6 separate regions of the Homo sapiens genome follow, and all the other regions are linked to region 1. The links are contacts of gene promoters, found by promoter capture Hi-C in blood cells and fetal thymus (Javierre and others, 2016). All regions are on one chromosome and are shown on one strand. Each heading gives the region's core, a stretch centred on a gene start or on the middle of the fragment in contact. The rest is flanking DNA. Distances are from core to core; before and after follow the strand shown.

Region 1 (3,464 bases), core at 275-2,774:
TGCTACCACTGTACTGGCCTGGTAAGGGGGAGAAGAGTAAATATTTACTTCTCTAATTCCCACCCTTTCTCATTTTGCCCATTCTTCCATCCCCAACTCATTACAAACTGCATTTTAATAGGAGAAACAACTTTTTTTTTTCTTTTTTTTTTTTTTTTTTTAAGAGACGGAGTCTTGCTATGTTGCTTAGGCTGGTCTTGAACTCCTGGCCTCAAGCAATCCTCCCACCTTGGCCTCCCAAAGTGCTAAGATTATAGGCATAAGCCACCATGCCTGGCAGAGAAACAACTTTTAAGGCGGAAATATTCTGTCCAGTAATCTTTAAAACTACTGCATCTGTTATGCTGAATGCATTAAAGTTACAGGATTCATCATATGGGAAAGAGGGCAAGTTCGACTTGCTTATTTATCTTTACAATAGTGAAAAAGATGATTCCCTCCCTTTGAAAACTTCTTTCATCACCAGACAAATTAAGTCACATTAAAGTTCAATCAAAAGTAGTGGAAATAGGCCAGGCGCGGTGGCTCACGCCTGTAATTCCAGCATTTTGGGAGGCGAGGCGGGCGTATCACTAGGTCGGGAGATCGAGACCATCCTGGCTACCATGGTGAAACCCCGTCTCTACTAAAAATACAAAAAAAAAAAAAATTAGCTGGGCGTGGTGGTGGGCGCCTGTAATCCCAGCTACTTGGGAGGCTGAGGCAGGAGAATGGCGAACCCGGGAGGCGGAGCTTGTAGTGAGCCAAGATTGTGCCACTGCACTCCAGCCTAGGCGACCGAGCAAGACTCTGTCTCAAAAAAAAAAAAAAAAATGTGGAAATAAGGTTTCTGCTACAGAAGGAAAAACTGTTTACAGACGGCTCCTGTAAAATTCTAACAACGCATTTTCGAGGCTAAACGTGGGCTAAACTAGGAGACTAATACCTTTGGCACTGCCCTGTTGTTTCCTAACAAGACAGGCCCAAATATGTTCAGGAAGCATGGAGAAGACATCTGTCAGCAAAAGCCAAAGAGAAGGACATAGCAAAGTGGAGCTAGTGCTGTGAAGATGTGTTAGGGCAAGGGCACTTATAATCAAATACGTTTCCACTAATCTCCGAGTCCATGACAGCCTCTGACCTTACAGGAGTTCCAGGCAAGCAACACCTGCAGAGCCCGTGCGGACAAGAAGCTGGAGAACCGTGCAGAAAGACGATGTAAAAACACAAACCCCCAAGAGAGCGAGCCAACAGGGTTGTGTCCTGGTGAGTGTGACTCCCCAATAACCGAAACCTCCCGCCCGCAGTCGCACTAAGGAGCACAACTTCAACTCCACACCTCCGAGGCGGGGAGCTGAGGTTGAGGCCTGGGCCGGAGGTCGCCAAGAAGACCGGAAGGCCGCACTCACCATGGCTCCGGCTGGGCTCCCTTGCTTCCACCGGGAGCACGGCTCATCCCAGCTCAGAGGCCGCGGCCAACACCTGCACGCCTTTACCAGAGAGCGACGCAACCCCCAACCTCAAGCACAGGCGCCCTACGCAACACGGCAGGAGCAGCCGCAAACTAGGCCGGAAAACTGTCGTAAAAGGGGACGCGGAGGAGAAGGAAAGTCGCTCAAGCAGTGGACAGAGCGGAGAAAGCGACTTCGGGTTGGTTGAAGGGTGGGCGGATCTCTTTATTTCTGGGTGTAGGGGTGGGGCTTCTCTGTGTTTTCTGTCCTTTGCTCCTGGGCGGTGGGTATTTGGAAATTCTTGCAGGGAAGGGCATGGGCAGCCTTACTCAGACCGATTTTTTCCCCCTACATCTTAGCACCTCGTTTTGCCTTTATTTTATGTTAATAATTGTCAAGGGTAATGAATGTAGTTAAACATGCTGTGACATTTCCACCACGAACCCAAACAAATATGTTGTAACCCAGTGTAGGAAACGAGATGCCCAGAAAAACAAATGAAACCAACCACACTGTGTTTCAGGGATTGCTCGGTAGCATTTTTTAATGTAAAAGAACTTCATTTAAGGATGTGACTTGACAAGACTTTGTGAATATTTGGGTTTTCGTTTTGTAGAATGGGATTAAAGACAGTTCATATTCTGAACATGGAATGTCAAGATCCTACAACTGAAAAGGGCTATTTAAAAGTTTTCCTCCTCACCCAAAATAAAAAGTAGGGCTGGATTTTGCCCTTACGTGGACATCAGTTTCATACATCCCTACATAAATGCTTGAGAAGAAAAAAATAATGGAGACAATAATGGAATTTTACAATGCAACGTTTGCATGATCAAAATAAGTTTGGAGTTACTTCCCACTCAGAATTTACAGTGTTAAATATCCGTTTACATTGCAATGCAATTCTGCTTTGATGAGTTTGTTAGTTATTAAACAAATATGCAAAATTTTTGGGTTTGTTTTCCTCATCTGTAAAAGCAGTTTGCATTTGATAATCCAAGAGCTCTTCTAGCGCTAAGGTTTTTGTGATGTAATTTATTGTCAACACATGATTTAAGGTGACATCCAGCACTAAGACACTAGCATTAAGTTTATAACTTCCTCTTTTGCCTCTCTTTTATCTGGTTTTTACCCAACAATTACAAAATAAATAATCAAGTGAGGCATAAGACCTTGGGACCAAATTGGCATCAACAAGCTAGAATGCTATCTGGAAAAATTTATTATGCATATTTTTGGTATGTACAAACTGTGTAATGCAGTTTCTGGAGGAATAGATTTACAGTAGACTCTAATTAGCTTTGAGACTTTACAAAACCCAGACTCAGGAAATTGGGAGTAGCAACACAGCAAGACATTTTGTTGAGCTGGAGATAGCTCTTTTTTTGGTGGCAGATCAAACTGGAGGTAACCTGGCTCTGTCACTTACTAATACTGTGACTTGGAAAAGTTATTTCTGATTGAGTTTCTTCCTCATTTGTAAAATGAAGGTAATGATAACTACCTTGCCGAGTTTTTGTGAACGTAGAGATTATGCACATATTGTGTTCTGCTTATGGTCATCACTCAGTGTGGGGCTATTATTATGAGGGAAGCCAGAGTGCAAATTGGAGTGTAGAAGCCTTCCTCATTCTCATGATACCTCACTCATGAATCTTAAGTCTGGTTGCCTCTTACCTACCTGCCAAGATCCTAGAAACAGCCTTGAAAAGTAATCTTTTTAAATGTCCACTGACTGATGAATGGATAATCATTCCTCATTTCTTCTAGCTTCTGGTGACTGCCAGCATTCCTTGACTTGTGACTGAATCACTGCAGTCTTGTAAGCCAGCATCTTGAAATCTCACTCTGCTCCAACTTTTCCATCTTCACATTGTCCTTCTCTTCTGTTTGTAAAATCTCCTTCTGGTTTCCTCTTAAAGGATATATGTAATTGCATTTACCAGCTACCCAGATAATCCAGGATAATCTCCCCTTCTTAAGATCCTTAACTTAATCATAGTTTCCAACACTTTGCCATATAAGGTAACATTC
Region 2 (3,464 bases), core at 724-3,223, 1.6 Mb before region 1:
GCTATTATTGATCATGCCACTGCACTTCAGCCTGGGCAGACAGAGTGAGACCCTGTCTCTAATAATAATAATAACAATAATTGTATATGGTATGTAGTTTTTACTTTCATCATTGTAAATTACGTGGTATAAAATTTAATTGGCATAACACTTGGATTCACGAATATTTTTACTTAGGAAAAAATTAACTTTTTAAGAAAAGCAAATTGGTGAAAAATATGAAGTAAATAATAATAGTCATACATGGATATGGAAAAAATTGGGTAGGTGATACATGAATGACTGAAATTGGAGAATACAGAATTCTAGACAAAACTGCTTGTTTATACTTCAGAAAAATGATCTTCTAACATCATTAGTCAAATGCTTTTTAAGGTAGAATAAACATGACAAACTCCCAACCACTCTTCAAATAATTTTCTTTAAAGTTAAAATGTGCTCTGTGTTTTTTATGGAATGTCATACCAACACTTAGAGAAAATAACATATTAAAAAATAAAGGACAAAAGCATATGACTCTGATTTGTAATCCCTGTTCAGTAGTAATAAATTGTGTGACTATGACCATGAACAGTAGATGTAATGTTACTAAGTTTTTCTTAGTCCATGGGTTCTGCAACTCCTTAAAACAAGCTTGTCCAACCCACGGCCCAACACAAATTTGTAAACTTTCTTAAAATGTTATGAGATTTATTTGCAATTTTTTGTTTTGTTTTGTTTTCGAGCTCATCAGCTATTGTTAGTGTATTTTATGTGTGACCAAAGACAATGCTTCGTCCAGTGTGGCCCAGGGAAGCCAAAAGATTGGACACCCCCTTCCTTAAAAACTTTTTTTTTTTTTAACCTTAAAAACTTCCATTTTTACAGGCTGGGCGTGGTGGCTCACGCCTGTAATTCCAACACTTTGGGAGGCTGAGAGGCAGGTGGATCACCTGAGGTCAGGAGTTCGAGACCAGCCTGGCCAGCATGGTGAAACCCTGTCTCTACACAAATAGAAAAATTAGCCAAGCATGGTGGCGGATGCCTGTAATCCCAGCTACTTGGGAGGCTGAGGCAGGAGAATCACTTGAATCCGGGAGGTGGAGGTTTCAGTGAGCCTAGATCGTGCCATTGCACTCCAGCCTGGGCAACTGAGCGAGACTCCTCAAAAAAACAAAACAAAACAAAAAGACTATTTTACTATGCTTCTATTTAACTAACAGCTATGGAATATCTACTATCAAGCCAAGTGCTCAGGAATACAAAGATAAACTATGGTTCTTGACCTCAAAGAGATTTACCATATAATGCAGGAAACTGTCACCTTTCTGAACTACAATTCAATTAAATATCAAATTGACTTTCATGTATCCAAGTATTTGCCTTTTGTATAATGCTACCTACCATACACGTTCTTGTCAGTTTTTTATATACTTGTGATTCAGTACTTCCAAAATATATGCAGAATGACTAAAGTTTATACTCCCATCAGCAAGATCATGTTTCCGCACAGGCTTATCAACAATATCATACAACTTTTAAATTTCCTGTAAATCTTAAGGTCATAAAGTAGTACATTATTATTGTTTAAATTTGCATAATCTGATTACTAACAAGGTTGAGACTATCTAATATGCTTATTAGTCATTTTAACTTTCATTTTGTGAACTGCTTCTCCCTATCCTTTGTCTGCTTTTCTGTTGGGTTTTCTGCTCTATTTTCCGAAGTTCTTTATTTTTAACTATTGATTTTTGTTGGCAATATATACTGCAAAAAATAGATTTCCTATGTGTCTGTTATGGATGACTTTTTTGAACAGAAATCCTTAAATTTAATGTAATAGATTCATCACATTTTCCCTTTACATTGTACCTCCTGTCTGTTAATTTTACAAAATTCTCTCCAACTAAAATGTCCCCAAATTATTTTCCTACGTTTTTTCCTAATTTTCTGGTTTTACTTTTCTTTTTTTTTTTTTTTTGAGACGGAGTCTTGCTCTGTCGCCCCGGTTGGAGTGCAGTGGTGAGATCTCGGCTCACTGCAAGCTCCGCCTCCGGCATTCACGCCATTCTCCTGCCTCAGCCTCCCGAGTAGCTGGGACTACAGGCGCCCGCCACCACAACCGACTAATTTTTTTGTATTTTTAGTAGAGACGAGGTTTCACCGGATTAGCCAGGATGGTCTCGATCTCCTCACCTCGTGATCCGCCCGCCTCGGCCTCCCAAAGTACTGGGATTACAGGCTTGAGCCACCGCGCCCGGCCTGGTTTTACTTTTCATGTTCAGGTCTTATACCCATCTGAATTTGTATATAGATATGATTCAAACTTTATTTTTGTTAATTAAATTGAACCAATTTCTCCAATGTGATAAAATAATTTATCTTACCCAGTGATTCATAATACCAATTTTATCATATACCAACTCCCCATGGACATAATTAGCATGTAAATCTGTGTCTTACACAATTACATTCCATCGTTTGTTCCTCCAAGAGTATCACATACTTTAATAGTAACAACATGCTTTAAATATTAAGAGTTGGGTAAGTATAGGCAGAGAACAAGGGAAATAAAGAGAAATGGTTGATAATTTAAAAAATAATAAATATTAGAGCTTTGCTTATAGCAAATAAAAAATAAATGTTAGGACTTATTATAAATATTAAACTTTAGCAAGTACTTCTTCTGCATGTATTGAGATAAATGTGGGTTTCCTCCTTTGGTCTGTCAGTATTATGGATTATATTGATTTCTGTTTGATGATTTCTGTATTCCTAGGAAAACCCTACTTGGATAAAAAAATAATTCTAATACAACGTTGGCCTCAGGTAGCTAATATTTCCTATGTTTGCCTCTGTAGTCCATAAGTGTGAATTTTTTTTTTTTTTTTTTCTGGAGACTGAGTCTTGCTCTTTCGCCCAGGCTGGAGTGCAGTAGCGTGATGTTGGCTCACTGAAACCTCCGCCTCCCGGATTCAAGTGATTCTCCTGCCTCTCCCTCTGGAGTAGCTGAGACTACAGGCACCTGCCACCACGCCTGGCTAATTTTTGTGTTTTTTATTAGAGACAAGGTTTCACCATATTGGACAGGCTGGTCTCGAACTCCTGACCTCATGATCCACACGCCTCATGATCCAAACTGCTGGGATTACAGGCGTGAGCCATCGCACCCGGCAAGATTAATCTTTTCGTTAAACATGTAATAGAAAGTTACCCCGAAAATCATCTAGACCTGGCTAGTTTTGAATATGTGGGAAACTTAGCCTATTCGAGTTTTCTATTTTTTCTCGGTCTAATTTTGGTATTTGATGTTTTCCCAGATTTTATACTTCATCTAAGCTTTTCAATTTGTTGGCATTTATATATATATCTATAGTTATTCTCCCCTTAATTTGTGTCCTTTCATTTTTTATGTTCTTGAACAGATTTGGCAGTGATACATCAAATTGATAATTTCTTTCAAATAACGTTAGTTTTTGTTAATA
Region 3 (3,464 bases), core at 470-2,969, 1.4 Mb before region 1:
GTCAGGTAGCCCTCCCCATACAACTTTCTCTCCAGATTCTGATAACAGTTATTTCTTCTTGTTTCTTCAGTTTGAAGAATGGCAATGGATCCATTATTATTAGTTATCATTATAGTACTGGGGTACTGTACTGTCCCTTCTGGTTGTCCTGTATTTCACCTATATCTTTGCAAATAATTCCCTTTAATAAGTAAACTGAAATTACCCAGTTTTAGTGTACCATTTCTTAACTGATTGAACCTCTACTTAAATACGGTGTATGCCTTGTTATATTTTAATTAAATGATTCTTTAAGGTGTATTTGAAACTAGGTTCAAGTGAGTAATAATATGAATATAATTGGGCTGAGTGCAGTGGCTCATGCCTGCAGCACTTTGGGATGCTGAGGCAGAGGATTGCTTGAGCCCTGGAGTTTGAGTCCAGCCTGGGCAACATAGTGAGACCTTATGTCTACAAAAAATTTAAGAAATTCATTGTAGTCCCAGCTATTTGGAAGACTGAGGCGGGAGGATTGCTTGAGCCTAGGAGGTTGAGGCTGCAGTGAGCTGTGATTTTCATATGATACTTTTGCAAGCTGTTAATGCTAATTATCTTTAATCTTTTCAGATGAAGTTGGAGCCCTTGTTTTTGACATTGGATCCTATACTGTGAGAGCTGGTTATGCTGGTGAGGACTGCCCCAAGGTAAGTGTAATGTTAGAGTTAATTGGATATGTAAAGCCATTCATGTAAATTAAATTTATGCAGAAATTCTGATTCAAAACAAAATATAATAAAATACATTAATTGGGGAAAAAATGCCTTCTTGATGAAAGGTGAAACTTGTATGTCATGTTTCTGACTCTTACAGGTGGATTTTCCTACAGCTATTGGTATGGTGGTAGAAAGAGATGACGGAAGCACATTAATGGAAATAGATGGCGATAAAGGCAAACAAGGCGGTCCCACCTACTACATAGATACTAATGCTCTGCGTGTTCCGAGGGAGAATATGGAGGCCATTTCACCTCTAAAAAATGGGATGGGTATGATGTTTTCCCCATGGAATTGATTATGGAGTGTACATGTTATATTTTAGATACAAAGTAGTAGCTTCCTATAAGTTGAACATCAACCATGGTTTTTTGTTTTGTTTTGTTTTTTATTCCACAAACTGATTTCCAGACACTGAGAATACAAAGATGCATAAGAAATGTTCCTTTTCATTAAAAGCTTACAGTTAGTTGGGGGAAATAGATGTATATATACAAATAATGGTACACTGTGGGATAAGTGGTACAATATAGGTATGTGCAATGAGCAATGGGATTAGAGAGGAGAGGTATTTGACTCTAGTGTTGGGAGTCAGTGATGGTTTTCACAAAGGAGGTAACATGATGAATCTTGATCAATGAGTAAGAATTAGCTTGGCTGACAAAGCTGGGTAAAGCAAAGGGACCAGCATGTGTGAAGGGATGGAATTGTGAAAGAAACTTATGTGCTTGAAAATGTAATACAATTAAGTATGGTTGCAGCATTGGGCTTATTAGGGTCAGTAGCAGGAAAGGTAGGCAGAGAGCAGTAGCAGGAAAGGTAGGCAGGGAGCAGTCATAAAAGGGCTTGTAAACCATCCCAGGGTTGTATTAAGCTAGTGACTGAAGGATAACCCCAAAGGAATTTAAACAGATGTGATGGTCAGAGTCCAGATGAGAAATGAAAAAGGTTTAAACTATTATATAATGCTGGTAGAGATTCTGAAGGGACTTTCAGGGTAACCAGGAGACAAATGGTACTAAATGATCGAGGGAGTGAAAGCAAGAGAGAAGTTGAGAAAGTTTCCTAGATTTTTGGTTGGGGTAACTCTGAACAGAGAGTACCATGCATTGAGATAGGAATATAAAGGGAAGGAGCAAGTGTTACGGTTTTAAAAGGCATGGTTGGCCATGCGTGGTGGCTCGCGCCTATATAATCCCAGCACTTTGGGAGGCTGAGACTGTGGGTGGATTGCTTGAGTCTAGGAGTTTGAGACCAGCCTGGGCAACATGGCGAAACCCCATCTCTACTAAAAATACAAAAATTTGACAGGTGTGGTGATGCGTACCACCTGTAATTCCAGCTACTTGGGAGGCTGAGGCATGAGAATCACTTGAACCCAGGATGCAGAGGTTGCAGCTGAGATCTCATGACTACACACCAACCTGGGTGACAGAGTGAGACTCTGTCTCAAAAAAAAAAACAAAAAAAAAAAACAAGCTTATCAGGGATAGCCAAAATCACTCTCAGGTTCAATTATTCACCAGCAAGACTCACTCACAGGACTCAGCATATGGTTGTATTCACAGCTAAGATTTATTGTACTGAAGATTCAGATACAAAACAAAATCGACAAAGGGAAAAGGGACAGGGGATGATGAAGTCCAGATACAGGCTTTGGAGAGTCTTCTCACAGTGGAGTCACACAGGATGTGCTTAATCCCTCCAGCAACAAGTTATGATCTGTGTTACCTTCCAGGAGAACTCTGAGGCTCAGTACCCAAGGATTTTACAGAGGGCTGGTTATGTAGGTACCATCTACCTGGCATGTAACAAAATTTTAGATTCTCAGAAGGAAAGCAAGTGTTCAGAACAAACCACATTGTATAAACAGTGTAGGTATAGCGAGCTACCCTTACCATTTAGGGACAAGTTTTATATGAACATAGGGAACTGTTTGCCAGTCATGTTTCCAGACACCAGCTAAGAGTCAGCCTTACAAGCAGGCCTTTCTCAGGCTTGCAGTGTTAACTCTTTCATGTGTAGTAAGTAAATGGGTTCACTGAGTTCAAAGTACTTAGAACATCCAGGTGATAATTCAGTAAACGGGAATAAAAGGTTATAAGAAAGATTTTAAGACATGGAGTTGCATTTTATTACTCTGAAAAAAATTGGAACATGAGAAGAGGATTGAAGATGGAGTTCTAGCAAAAACTTGTTGTATATTTTAACCAATAGAGAATAAAAGGTACCCTTGAAGGAGAAAGAAAGGGAACAATTAGGGATGTAGGAAAAAAAGCAGGGGAAGAACAAGAAAAGAAAAAGTTTCTGGAAGCATAAAATTCCAGTTATTCTCGGTGTTTTCTGCTGTGACATTGAAAGCTTTACACTAAGAAAGAAGTTAAAAAAATCCAGGTGGGCCTGTGGAAATATATAATTAATGACATTTTTTCTTTGGGCTGTGACAGAAAAGTTTGTAAACTCTTGTGTAGGCAATACTGTCATAATTTAGAGAAGTCAGATGAGATTAAAAATGTTAAGTATCCATGAATTTGCCTAGTAGAAGGTCATTAGTGGCTGGGGGCGGTGGCTCACGCCTGTAATCCCAGCACTTTGGAGGCTGAGGTGGGTGGATCACCTGAGGTCAGGAGTTCGAGACCAGCCTGGCCAACATGGTGAAACCCTGTCTCTACTAAAAATGCAAAAATTAGTTGGGTACGGTGGCGGGCACCT
Region 4 (3,464 bases), core at 672-3,171, 1.4 Mb before region 1:
CAAAAAATAATTCCAGTGCTTCATTTGTCTGTGCATTTTATAACTGTCAAATGAGTGGAAGACCTAATGGAATAACCAGTTTTATGTGTTCTGATGTAACAAAATGCCTCTGCCTAATTAGTGGACATTTGTCAGCCTAATTTCAATGTCCCCTCTCAAACAGAGGTGGAAATATGTTAATGTATGCATGCCTTTTCTAATAATACCCCCATTGGCACTGGTCAGGGCTTGTCTGGAGTGCATTTAAAATGAAAACATTGCTTCTCAAGTTCTGGTCATTCCCCAGTCTGCAGTGAGATCTACAGTGAGGTCTAGGAAGTCAGGAATTGGTCTTGGAGCAAATGGTGAAGTCATGGTGCGGGGTGTAAGATGTTGCTTGGACTACCATCTGCCTTGAATAAGGACAAAAAGTCCTTGTACTTTTCTGCATCCTGGACTTAGAGCATTTCTCCCCTTATATACAGTTTATATACTTATATCTATACTGTATATATAGTTACTTATGTATATACATATATACTGTATATATACAGTTTATATACATATATATGTATACTGTATATAAAGGGGGAGGATGCCCTTTACCTCAGAGCAACAAAAGTAAATGTCATTAAGTACTCATTCAAGCCTTCTGACAGTTTCTGTTATTGCCTTAGGTTGGCATCAAGCCATCACACCTAAACCCTCAGTCTTCCTTGCCAGATATTTTCTAAATCCTGACAATGTAACAGATACAGAAGGACTTAGTATTCTTTTTAACCATAAAGGCAAGGCTAAATAGTGTGTTTGGATGGTTCTGGAGGAGGGCAGAAATAATCGAGTACTATTTTGGGGGACGGGACTCTTAAATGAATTATTCAAAGTTTAGGAGTTACGAAAATAAGATATTAAAAAAAACGCTGGTGCAGTGGCTCACACCTATAATTCCAGCACTTTGGGAGGCTGAGGCAGGAGGATCACAGGTGCCCAGGAGTATGAGACCAGCCTGGGCAACATAGTGTGAGACCCCATCTCTACAACAATTAAAATTAGGCAAGGTGGCATGCCCCTGGAGTCCCAGGCTGAGGTGGGAGCATCCCTTGAACCAAGAAGTTCGAGGTTGTAAGCTACAATCACGCCATTGCACTCCAGCCTGGCTGACAGAGCAAGACCTTCTCTCAAAAAAAAAAAATTTTTTAAGCCATTTCTAGTAAGAAGTAAGGCATAATTATATAAATTTCTTTCCATTTTACAGGGTACCTTTCAACAGATGTGGATTTCCAAGCAAGAATATGAAGAAGGAGGGAAGCAGTGTGTAGAAAGAAAATGCCCTTGAGAAAGAGTTCCCAAGCTTCTACCTTCCTTTTGTCACCTTACGTTTCATAGCTTTAGTATACTCAGGAAAAGAATGACCATCTTTTGTAGAATGTTTATACATTTTTGCATATTTCAATTTCCACTTAAATTTTTTAAAGCTTTAACTGGCTCTATAAATTAAGTTTGTGCTTTCCTTGAAATGCACTTATTCTTATTACAAGCATTTTATAATTTTGTATAAATGTCTATTTTCTCTAAATATTTTGCTTTCAGTAAAATGCTTTCCAACTCTGTTTAGTGTATTAATTACCAGTGGATTGGTAGAACTGCTTTTTATTGACTAGTAAAAGTTACTGCCTATGCTTTTTACCTTAGGCTTACAGAATTAAATAAAAATTAGCCATTCCAGAAATATATTTTGGACTGTTGTGCACTGTGATTACTACTTTAAGGACTAAATGTATTTCTCATTATTTTGAATCAAAGTCCTCCGTTTATTAACAGCAATACCCACATCCTCTTCATAGCCTATTAACAACAGAGGTAAAACTATTATTCAAATTCAAAAACTACGGTATTGCCTTTGCTGTGGCAGTTACCATCACCTTCACACTCTAAGGTAGCAGGTGACATTTAAAGCCTGCTTAAATGTCAGAATTTATAAAGTGGGAATCTCATCTGAACTTTATACCTGATTTTTAGAAGCAAATTAGCTTCTACCAAATTAGCTAATTAGCATGCCATATTCACACTTAGAACAACTGATTAGTAAAGTCACTTGACTAAAAACAGAATTTCTTTATAAACCACTTAACATATTTACTCCTGTACACAGACTATTCAAGAAAAACAAAATGGTAAATTTAATAGTTCAGACATCTTAGACAAGACTTGACTTTTGGGCTTCAGCAAGATGTGGAAACTTTTTTAAAAGAATTTTTGCTTTCTTTCTCTCTAAATTTTCCTTCCGTGCTTTGATGCGGGCTCGTTTCTCACGTTCCAGTCTAGAATAAAAAAAGCGTAACAGCAATTTATACAAAAATATTTCCTTGTTATTCAATACTATCAAAATATGCATAAATCAATTACATCAAAGCTTCAAACATGCCAGTCCCTGTATTTGGTGTGTTATATATATTATTAAACTTGAATAGTAATCACTGTAAACCTACACAAGTCAAGAGCATCTGAAACCCTATACCAACTATCCCTATTTCCTGACTAGAAAGAATGTCCAGATATTATGAACCTGTAACAAATTGGGCCTTAAGTTCAATCCTCATATGACTAAGCATCATCTCTTAGCAGAGTGTTATTCTGTGTATAGGGGAAATGATAAGCTAGAGTGAGTACTATTTGAAAGTAGGGAATTCCCATAAGTCTCAGGATATCTCTCATGATGCCAAAAATAAATTCTTAGGCTCTGGCTAGACTTACTATTCTTTAAATGAGTTTGTTCCCACACATCAGTATCCCAGGGTATGACACATTTGCTGCATAAATTACAACATAAATTACTTGACCTGTAGGGTCAACTTGGGAGTTGTAAAAATTGAAAATGAAAAAAATCCTTGCATACCAAGCTCTATTTGAATTGATATCTTACAGGATATTGGTCAATAGAAATAAGTTTATATAAAATACAGCAATAAAGATGTACTGCTGAAGTTATTACAAATGAGGTTTTGGGGGGAAAAAAGACAATACAATATGCCAGTGCTATGGGAGAGGTCATAGAAAATTGAGATAACACGTATTACAGCTGGATGAAGTAAAAAATATGCACATATATAGGAAAAAAAGTATAAAGGCTGAACAAAGTCAAAATGAGATTACCCATTCTATTCATCAGTCTTTGCTCCAACTAAATTTTGACCATTTACAAAAACAAAGACCCATCTGAAAGAATAAAGGTTTGCTATTCTTAATATTAAGATGATGATGCTACATTCTGAAGGTGAGGCTTAAAAAGGTAGTTTCAAAAACAAAATCATTAGAATATGTATAAAACCTGTAAAAGTGATACTGGATTGATACATTCTCATACATTATTTTAAAAGTTATGTCATGGACAGGTGCAGTGGCTCACGCCTGTAATCCCAACTTAGGGAGGCCGAGGTGAGAGGATCACGAGGTCAAGAGATCAAGACCATCCTGGCCAACATGGT
Region 5 (3,464 bases), core at 519-3,018, 1.4 Mb before region 1:
CGGAGTCTTGCTCTGTTGCCCAGGCTGGAGTGCAATGGCGTGATCTTGGGTCACTGCAACCTCTGCCTCCTGCGTTCAGGCGATTCTCCTGCCTCAGCCTCTTGAGTAGCTGGGATTACAGTTGCACGCCTCCATGCCCGGCTAATTTTATGTGTTTTTAGTAGAGATGGGGTTTCATCATGTTGGCTAGGCTGGTCTCGAACTCCTGACCTCGTGATCCACCTGCCTTGGCCTCCCAGAGTGCTGAGATCACAGGCGTGAGCCACCCCACCTGACCTCAAGCATCATTTTAAGGGTTTAAAGTATTAATTTATTTAATCCTCTTCATTAGATATATACTGTAAGCTATTTGCCCTGTGCAATAGAAGCAGGTAAAGAGGAAGTGAAACACTTAAAGTCAGAAAGTTGTCTCCAGCCTCAAAATATCTTGTTCTCTTTTTACCCCTATTCTCCCAGTTTAATTTGAATTATGCCACTCCACAGGATGAGGCAATATACATAGGGATTTGCTGGAAACATGATGCAAAGAACCAGTGGTATTTAACAAATTTCCAGCAGGAATTTGAACTTGTTACAAAACTACATTCCTTGATGAAAATCCCTTTATAAGCCATTTCTGATTACAGATATTCTCATATAGCCAAATACAAATCCTTCAAATACTCGCTCTGGTAGTATTCAATCAAATCCAGCTGGAGATAAACTGCAGCAAAATTTCACCCCCAGTTTCTCTTTCCACATTATTGCCCTTTCTTGGGGTTCTCAAAGGATCATTACCGTGTTCTGCGCCCTTTCCAATCAGAGCAGGGAAGGTTCTAATAGCTATGTTTACTAAAGGTTACTGTGTTTTCAGCTGTGTACCTGCTTTCAAAGGTATTTTGCATCTGTCACTGTGATATGAAAGCTTTTAATCTCTTACATGGTTGTTTATATCTGTCCCTACAAGAATGTAAGCTCTAATGTAGTAGAGAGCCTGTCTTGTTTTGTTTTTTCTGGAGATAGACTGCCTATCTTCAAATTCTGGCTCTAGAATTCAGAAGCCATGTCTGTGATCATCACATCTTGGAAGCTAAAGTGGAAGACACCTAATTGCTCATAACCTGCATTTCCTCCTCTTTAAAAAAGATGAGAATTTTAACCTGCCTCAAAAGGTAGTTGTGAAGAGTGAGTGGAAAAAATCAACAGTGCCTGGCAGCAGTAGCCTTTAAAAAAATTGTGGTAAAGTACACATAACATTTACTATTTTAACCATTTTTAAGTGCACCGTTCAGTGGTATTAAATACATTCCTAATGCTATGCAACCATCACCATCATCCAACTCCAGAACTTTTTTCATATGGTAAAACTAAAACTCTGTATCCGTTAAACAATAACTCTCCATTCCCCTTCCACGTAGCCCCTGGTAACCACCATTCTGCTGTCTTTATGATTTTGACTACTCTATTTCTCATGTAAGTAGAATCATATAATATTTGTCTGTCACTTAGCATAATATCCCCAAGGCATATTTATGTCGTAGCATATGTCAGAATTTCCTTCCTTTTTAAAGCTGAATTGTCCGTTGTCCATTGTATGTATTTACCCCATTTTGCTTATCCATCATCTGTCAATTGGGTTGCATCTAGGTTTTGTTTGTTTGTTTGTTTGTTTTGTTTTTGAGACAGAGTCTTGCTCTGTCTTCCAGGCTAGAGTGCAGTGGCACCATCTTGACTCACTGCAACCCCTGGCTTCCCGTGTTCTCATATCAAACTGAAGGTCAGGCTGCTATTTCTTGCCATCCAATAATGAGATGCAGATGAACTGGGGAGGAAGAGAGTTTTTTTTTTGTTTTGTTTTGTTTTTTTTTGAAACAGAGTCTCACTCTGTTGCCCAGGCTGGAGTGCAGTGGCGCGATCTTGGCTCACACAGCCATCTCTGCCTCCTGGGTTCAGGCGATTCTCCTGCCTCAGCCTCCTGAGTAGCTGGGATTACAGGTGCACACCTCCATGCCCGGCTAATTTTTTGTATTTTTAGTAGAGATGGGTTTTCACCATGTTGGCCAGGCTGGTCTTGAACTCCCGGCCTCAGGTGATCCGCCCGCCTTGGCCTCCCAAAGTGCTGGGATTATAGACATGAGCCACCGCGCCCTGCCAGAAGAGAGTTTTTATTCCTGTAACTGGTTACAGGGAGAAGTCCTGGAAATTATCGCCAGACCAACTTAAAATTACAGTTTTCCAGAGCTTGTAGACCTTTTAAGCTATATGTCTACATGTAAGTGTGCACTTATCTAAAGACAAAAGTGACTAACTTTTTAAAATCTATAATTAAGGTCTGAGTCCTGAGGACCTTCCTCTGGAGCCTTAGTAAATTTACTTAATTTAAATGGATCCAGGTGCTGGGGTGATTACCCTTATCTTATCTCCTGCTAAATCACGGAGGTTTGGGAAGTTCCTTCAGACCTCCAGTCAACTTGTTTGTGGAGGCCTGGGGAGTTTCTTCAGACCCACAAAAACTTGTTTAATCCTAAATGGGTTCTGTTAAGAATTCTTTCGAACTCCTGTCCTCAAGTGATCCACCTGTCTTGGCCTCTTAAAGTGTTGGGATTACAGCTGTGAGCCACTACACCGAAGCACTTGCAGATTTTAATTACTGTAAAGCTTCACTTAACATCATTGGCTCTTGAAACTGCGACCGTCAGAACCTATAATAAAGAAGGAAGTGATGTTGTTTAAGGACCTGCTGTATGTGGTTTCACTTAAAGTCACAGTTTCCAAGAACTCATCAGTGACATTGAGTATGACTTGTGTTGTGAATAATGTTTCTGTGAACATGGATATACAAATACCTCTTCTGAGACCCTGCTTTCAATTCTTATGGGTATATCTGCAGAAGTGTAATTGCTGGGTCATGTGTGTCATGGGTGTTACTGGCTGGGACTGGCATTGTGGGTGGTGAAAGAATTTACCAAGACAGTCATAGATACAGAGGACAGATTTATTAGAGAAAATACGAAGATAGAGTTGCAAGAGAACAATGGGCAGCACAGCAGAGAAGGGGCTATCTGCAGAGTCAGGGACTGGAGGGAAGTTTTATAGGGTCATACTGAAGGGGCTATGAGCAGAGAAGATGTGCAGATAAGGTCACTCTACTGGGGCTATGTGTTGAACGAGGTATTTGGGAACAGGATGTTGTGCCTGTGGGTTGCCTGTGATTAGCCGTGTCTCAGCAGAATTGCTTTCCTCCACCTGGGGCCCCTTCCTTGTTGCTTATGTATCTTACTAGGATTCCACAATATGGTAATTCTGTTTTTAATTTTTTGAGGAACCCTCATGCTATTTTCCATAGCAACAATACCATTTTACATTCCTTTGTTTACCAACAGTGTACAAAGATTCCACTTCCTCCATATTGTCACTGACACTTGTTATTTTCTGGTTTTTTGATTGTAGCTATTCTGATGGGTATGTGATGATATCATTGTAGT
Region 6 (3,464 bases), core at 243-2,742, 1.3 Mb before region 1:
TGTCTCTACTAAAAATACAAAAATTAGCCGGACATGGTGGCGGGCACCTGTAATCCCAGCTACTCAGGAGGCTGAGGCAGAGAATTGCTTGAACTCGGGAGGTGGAGGTTGCAGTGAGCCGAGATCACACCACTGCCCTCCAGCCTGGGCAACAGAGTGAGACTGTCTTAAAAACAAAAACAAAACAAAACAAAACAAAACAAACAAAAACCAAAAAAAATGTACTTGCATGTAGGACAACACAGAAAGTATAGTGATGGAATATACTGTATGATAAAAATGATACAAACACCATTTAGTTGCCGTCAATAAGAAATTTACTTGTTTTTAAAAAAATCCAAATGCTGGCATTGTCCAGAAAAATTTAACACGTTTATTATAATTATTATAAAGTTAAACTGCTGAAACTTGTTCACTGAAACATTTTGACTCGCATTAATGCTTTACGTCCCCACATTTATATTAAAAATTCACACACAAATGAAAATGGAAAAACTGCCAATACCTGATTTCTGTCCCCTATTTTTCCACTCGCAATCATATATACTTAGTACGTTTTGACCCCATGGGAAAAAAAAAATAGATAACGTTCAGAACTACCAACAACAGGTAAAAGAAATTGTGTGTGTGTGTGTGTGTGTGTGTGTGTGTGTTAGAATGAAGTGTTTCCCATCATAGTGGCTTCTTTTTTTTTTTTTTTTTTTTTCTGAGACAGGGTTTCGCTTTTCTTGCCCCAGGCTAGAGTGCAATGGCGCGATCTCGGCTCACTGCAACCTCTGCCTCCCAGGTTCAAGCGATTCTCCTGCCTCAACCTCCTGAGTAGCTGGGACTACAGGCATGCGCCACCACACCTGGCTGGTTTTGTATTTTTAGTAGAGATGGGGTTTCTCCATATTGGTCAGGCTGGTCTCGAACTCCCGACCTCAGGTGATCCGCCCGCTTCGGCCTCCCAAAGTGCTGGGATTACAGGCGTGAGCCACCGTGCCCAGCATAGTGGATTCTTAAGCACATTCTTCAGGTATGTGGTGTGTTAGCTGGATGTCTTTTGGCATAATTGTTACATGTTCGGCATGGATAGCACACAGGTTGGTGTCTTCAAAAAGACCAACCAGGTAGGCCTCACTTGCCTCCTGCAAAGCACCAACAGCTGCACTCTGGAAGTGCATATCTGTTTTAAAGTCCTGAGCAATTTCTCGCACCAGACACTGGAAGGGAAGTTTGCGAATCAGAAGTTCAGTGGACTTCTGATAACGTCTAATTTCACGAGTGCCACAGTACCAGGTCTGTAATGATGAGGTTTCTTCACCCGTCCAGTAGAGGGCGCACTCTTGCGGCGTTTGTAGCTAGTTGCTTCCTGGAGTTTTTTTTGTTTGTTTTTTTTTGCTTTTTGTTTTTTTTTTTTTTTTGTTTGAGACGGAGTCTCACTCTGTCGCCCAGGCTGGAGTGCAGTGGCGCGATCTTCGCTCACTGCAACCTCCGCCCCCCAGGTTCAAGCGAGTCTCCTGCCTCGGCCTCCCGAGTAGCTGGGACTCCAGGCGCCTGCCACCGCGCTCAGCTATTTTTTTTTTTTTTTTTTTTTTGTATTTTAACTAGGGACAGGGTTTCACCATCTTGGCCAGGCTGGTCTTGAACTCCTGACCTCGTGATCCACCCGCCTCGGCCTCCCAAAGTGCTGGGATTGCTTCCTGGGTTCTTTACCACCAATTGATTTTTGGGCAGTCAGCTTTGTACCAGCCATGGTATAGTGACCTCCTTACTTAGACCCGTTCTTCTGCTGGAGCGTGGCGAGTGACAGGCGGCGCTGGTGTTGGAGAGCGATGGCTGAGTTTTAATTAACTTTTAAAGCAATACTTGAGGCCGGGCGCGGTGGCTCACGCCTGTAATCCCAGCACTTTGGGAGGCCGAGGTGGGAGACCAGACTGGCCAACGTGACGAAACCCCGTCTCTACAAAAAAAAAAAAAAAAAAACAACAAAAAATTAGCCTGGCGTGGTGGCGTGCATCTGTGGTCCCAGCTACTTGGAAGGCTGAGGCGGGAGAATCGCTTCAACCCAGGAGGCGGAGGTTGCAGTGAGCTGAGAGCGCGCCATTGCAGTCCAGCCTGGGCGACAGAGGGAGACTCCATCTCCAAAAAGAAAGGGGGGGAAAAAGCAATACTTGCACATAATACAAATGGAATCATACAGAAAGCTACAAAGTGGTAGTGTAGTAATCTGTTTTCACGCTGCTGACAAAGACATACCTGAGACCGGGCAATTTACAAAAGAAAGTTTTATTGGACTTACAGTTCCATGTGGCTGGGGAGGCTTCACAATCATGGTGGAAGGTGAAAGGCACGTCTCAGATGGAGGCAGACAACTGGAGAGAGCTTGTGCAGGGAGACTCACGTTTGTAAAACCATCAGCTCTTGTGAGACTTATTCACTATCACAAGAACAGCACGAGAAAGACCTGCCCCCATGATTCAATTACCACCTACTGGGTCTCTCCCACAACACGTGGGAATTCAAGATGAGATTTGGGTGGGGACACAGCCCTACCATACCAGGTAGTAAGTTCTCCCTTAACCTCAGGCTTTCAGTTCTTCTCCACAGAGCCTGACTAGTTTCTTGTGTATTGCTCTAGAGACATCCTAAAGCCAAACAAGTGGGCATGCATACACATATGTATATTTTAAGGGGCTACATTAAAAATATTTACTACAAGTACAACCAACTGGAATGAAGGCCCATGGTATATAGGATGTGCCAAAATGCCTACTGCATATTATCAGCCTTGCATGTATTCCTTGCTTTTATACACTAGTTTGCTTAAATTGCTTTTATCATCTAGTAATAATTTGGAGATTGTTCCACATCAGCACACGTAGAGCAACTTCATTCTTTTCAATGGTACTGTATTTTAACCACTTTCTACAGAAGGATCTTTAGGTTTTCCCCAGACGTTTGTTACTCGAAACAGTGCTCTAACAAATATCTTTACACAGCCTTAATTTATCTGTTGCATAAATGTCTAGACAAGGAAATGCTGGGGAAAACAGTATGCACATATAAAGTTATGACTGGTATTATTACATTTCCTTCCAAAGAGGTTTATCGTTTTTATCCCCACCAACAATGTAATGAGGGTCTACTTCCCAAACCCATGCTAACTCAATATATCTTTACCAGCCCAAAGGATGAAAAACAGTGTCTCACTGATTTAATTTGTATTTAATCTAAGATTAAATTTTAAGTTTTGTAAAACCAAGTTTATCTCTGTAATTGGAGAAAACATCATCCATTAACGTGAAAGGTAATAAGCTGATGAGACTAAATTCAAAGCAAAAGCTCGCTGAGAGGATCTGCCCAATGAGGAAGATGACAGTAGTGTCTGATTTTTTGCTCAGTGCCACCTCCTCCTTTTCCAACAGATAGCATTTGGGAGTGCTGAGTTATAAGAAAGTGTGGTGCGCTCGAGGCTTGCT

The links. Contacts are between HindIII fragments. The CHiCAGO score rates a contact against its expected background, and 5 or more counts as called.
Region 2: a contact is called between a fragment that was not itself captured here and the fragment with the promoter of DNAJC19 in region 1, in 3 of 17 cell types (naive CD8 T cells, total B cells and activated CD4 T cells). The highest score is 9.2, in naive CD8 T cells.
Region 3: a fragment that was not itself captured here is called in contact with the fragment with the promoter of DNAJC19 in region 1 in 1 of 17 cell types (monocytes); the score reaches 5.7 in monocytes.
Region 4: a contact is called between a fragment that was not itself captured here and the fragment with the promoter of DNAJC19 in region 1, in 2 of 17 cell types (total CD8 T cells and naive CD4 T cells). The highest score is 5.9, in total CD8 T cells.
Region 5: a fragment that was not itself captured here is called in contact with the fragment with the promoter of DNAJC19 in region 1 in 1 of 17 cell types (naive CD8 T cells); the score reaches 5.3 in naive CD8 T cells.
Region 6: a contact is called between a fragment that was not itself captured here and the fragment with the promoter of DNAJC19 in region 1, in 2 of 17 cell types (fetal thymus and activated CD4 T cells). The highest score is 8.3, in fetal thymus.

The regions. Positions count from the first base shown.
Region 1 is chr3:180,988,212-180,991,675 of GRCh38, forward strand. It overlaps DNAJC19 (DnaJ heat shock protein family (Hsp40) member C19), which reads right to left and starts at 1,525. Exons shown (of 6, transcript NM_145261.4): 1 at 1,389-1,525; 2 at 1-18. The coding sequence starts at 1,391. The HindIII fragment of the contact is 8,604 bases long and covers 1-3,464 here.
Region 2 is chr3:179,342,594-179,346,057 of GRCh38, forward strand. No RefSeq gene overlaps it. Among named protein-coding and RNA genes, the nearest start is that of MFN1, 3.4 kb to the right of the region's middle. The HindIII fragment of the contact is 2,685 bases long and covers 632-3,316 here.
Region 3 is chr3:179,569,218-179,572,681 of GRCh38, forward strand. It overlaps ACTL6A (actin like 6A), which reads left to right. Exons shown (of 14, transcript NM_004301.5): 2 at 607-683; 3 at 850-1,024. LOC124909462 (a long non-coding RNA gene) reads right to left here. Exons shown (of 2, transcript XR_007096181.1): 2 at 2,306-2,553. Among named protein-coding and RNA genes, the nearest start is that of ACTL6A, 8.0 kb to the left of the region's middle. The HindIII fragment of the contact is 1,020 bases long and covers 1,210-2,229 here.
Region 4 is chr3:179,586,696-179,590,159 of GRCh38, forward strand. It overlaps ACTL6A (actin like 6A), which reads left to right. Exons shown (of 14, transcript NM_004301.5): 14 at 1,235-1,712. The coding sequence ends at 1,315. MRPL47 (mitochondrial ribosomal protein L47) reads right to left here. Exons shown (of 7, transcript NM_020409.3): 7 at 1,590-2,300. The coding sequence ends at 2,177. Among named protein-coding and RNA genes, the nearest start is that of MRPL47, 16 kb to the right of the region's middle. The HindIII fragment of the contact is 938 bases long and covers 1,453-2,390 here.
Region 5 is chr3:179,606,361-179,609,824 of GRCh38, forward strand. The region is part of intron 1 of NDUFB5 (NADH:ubiquinone oxidoreductase subunit B5); the gene reads left to right. Among named protein-coding and RNA genes, the nearest start is that of NDUFB5, 3.3 kb to the left of the region's middle. The HindIII fragment of the contact is 1,733 bases long and covers 903-2,635 here.
Region 6 is chr3:179,648,461-179,651,924 of GRCh38, forward strand. It overlaps the pseudogene H3P13. Among named protein-coding and RNA genes, the nearest start is that of USP13, 2.8 kb to the right of the region's middle. The HindIII fragment of the contact is 5,252 bases long and covers 1-3,464 here.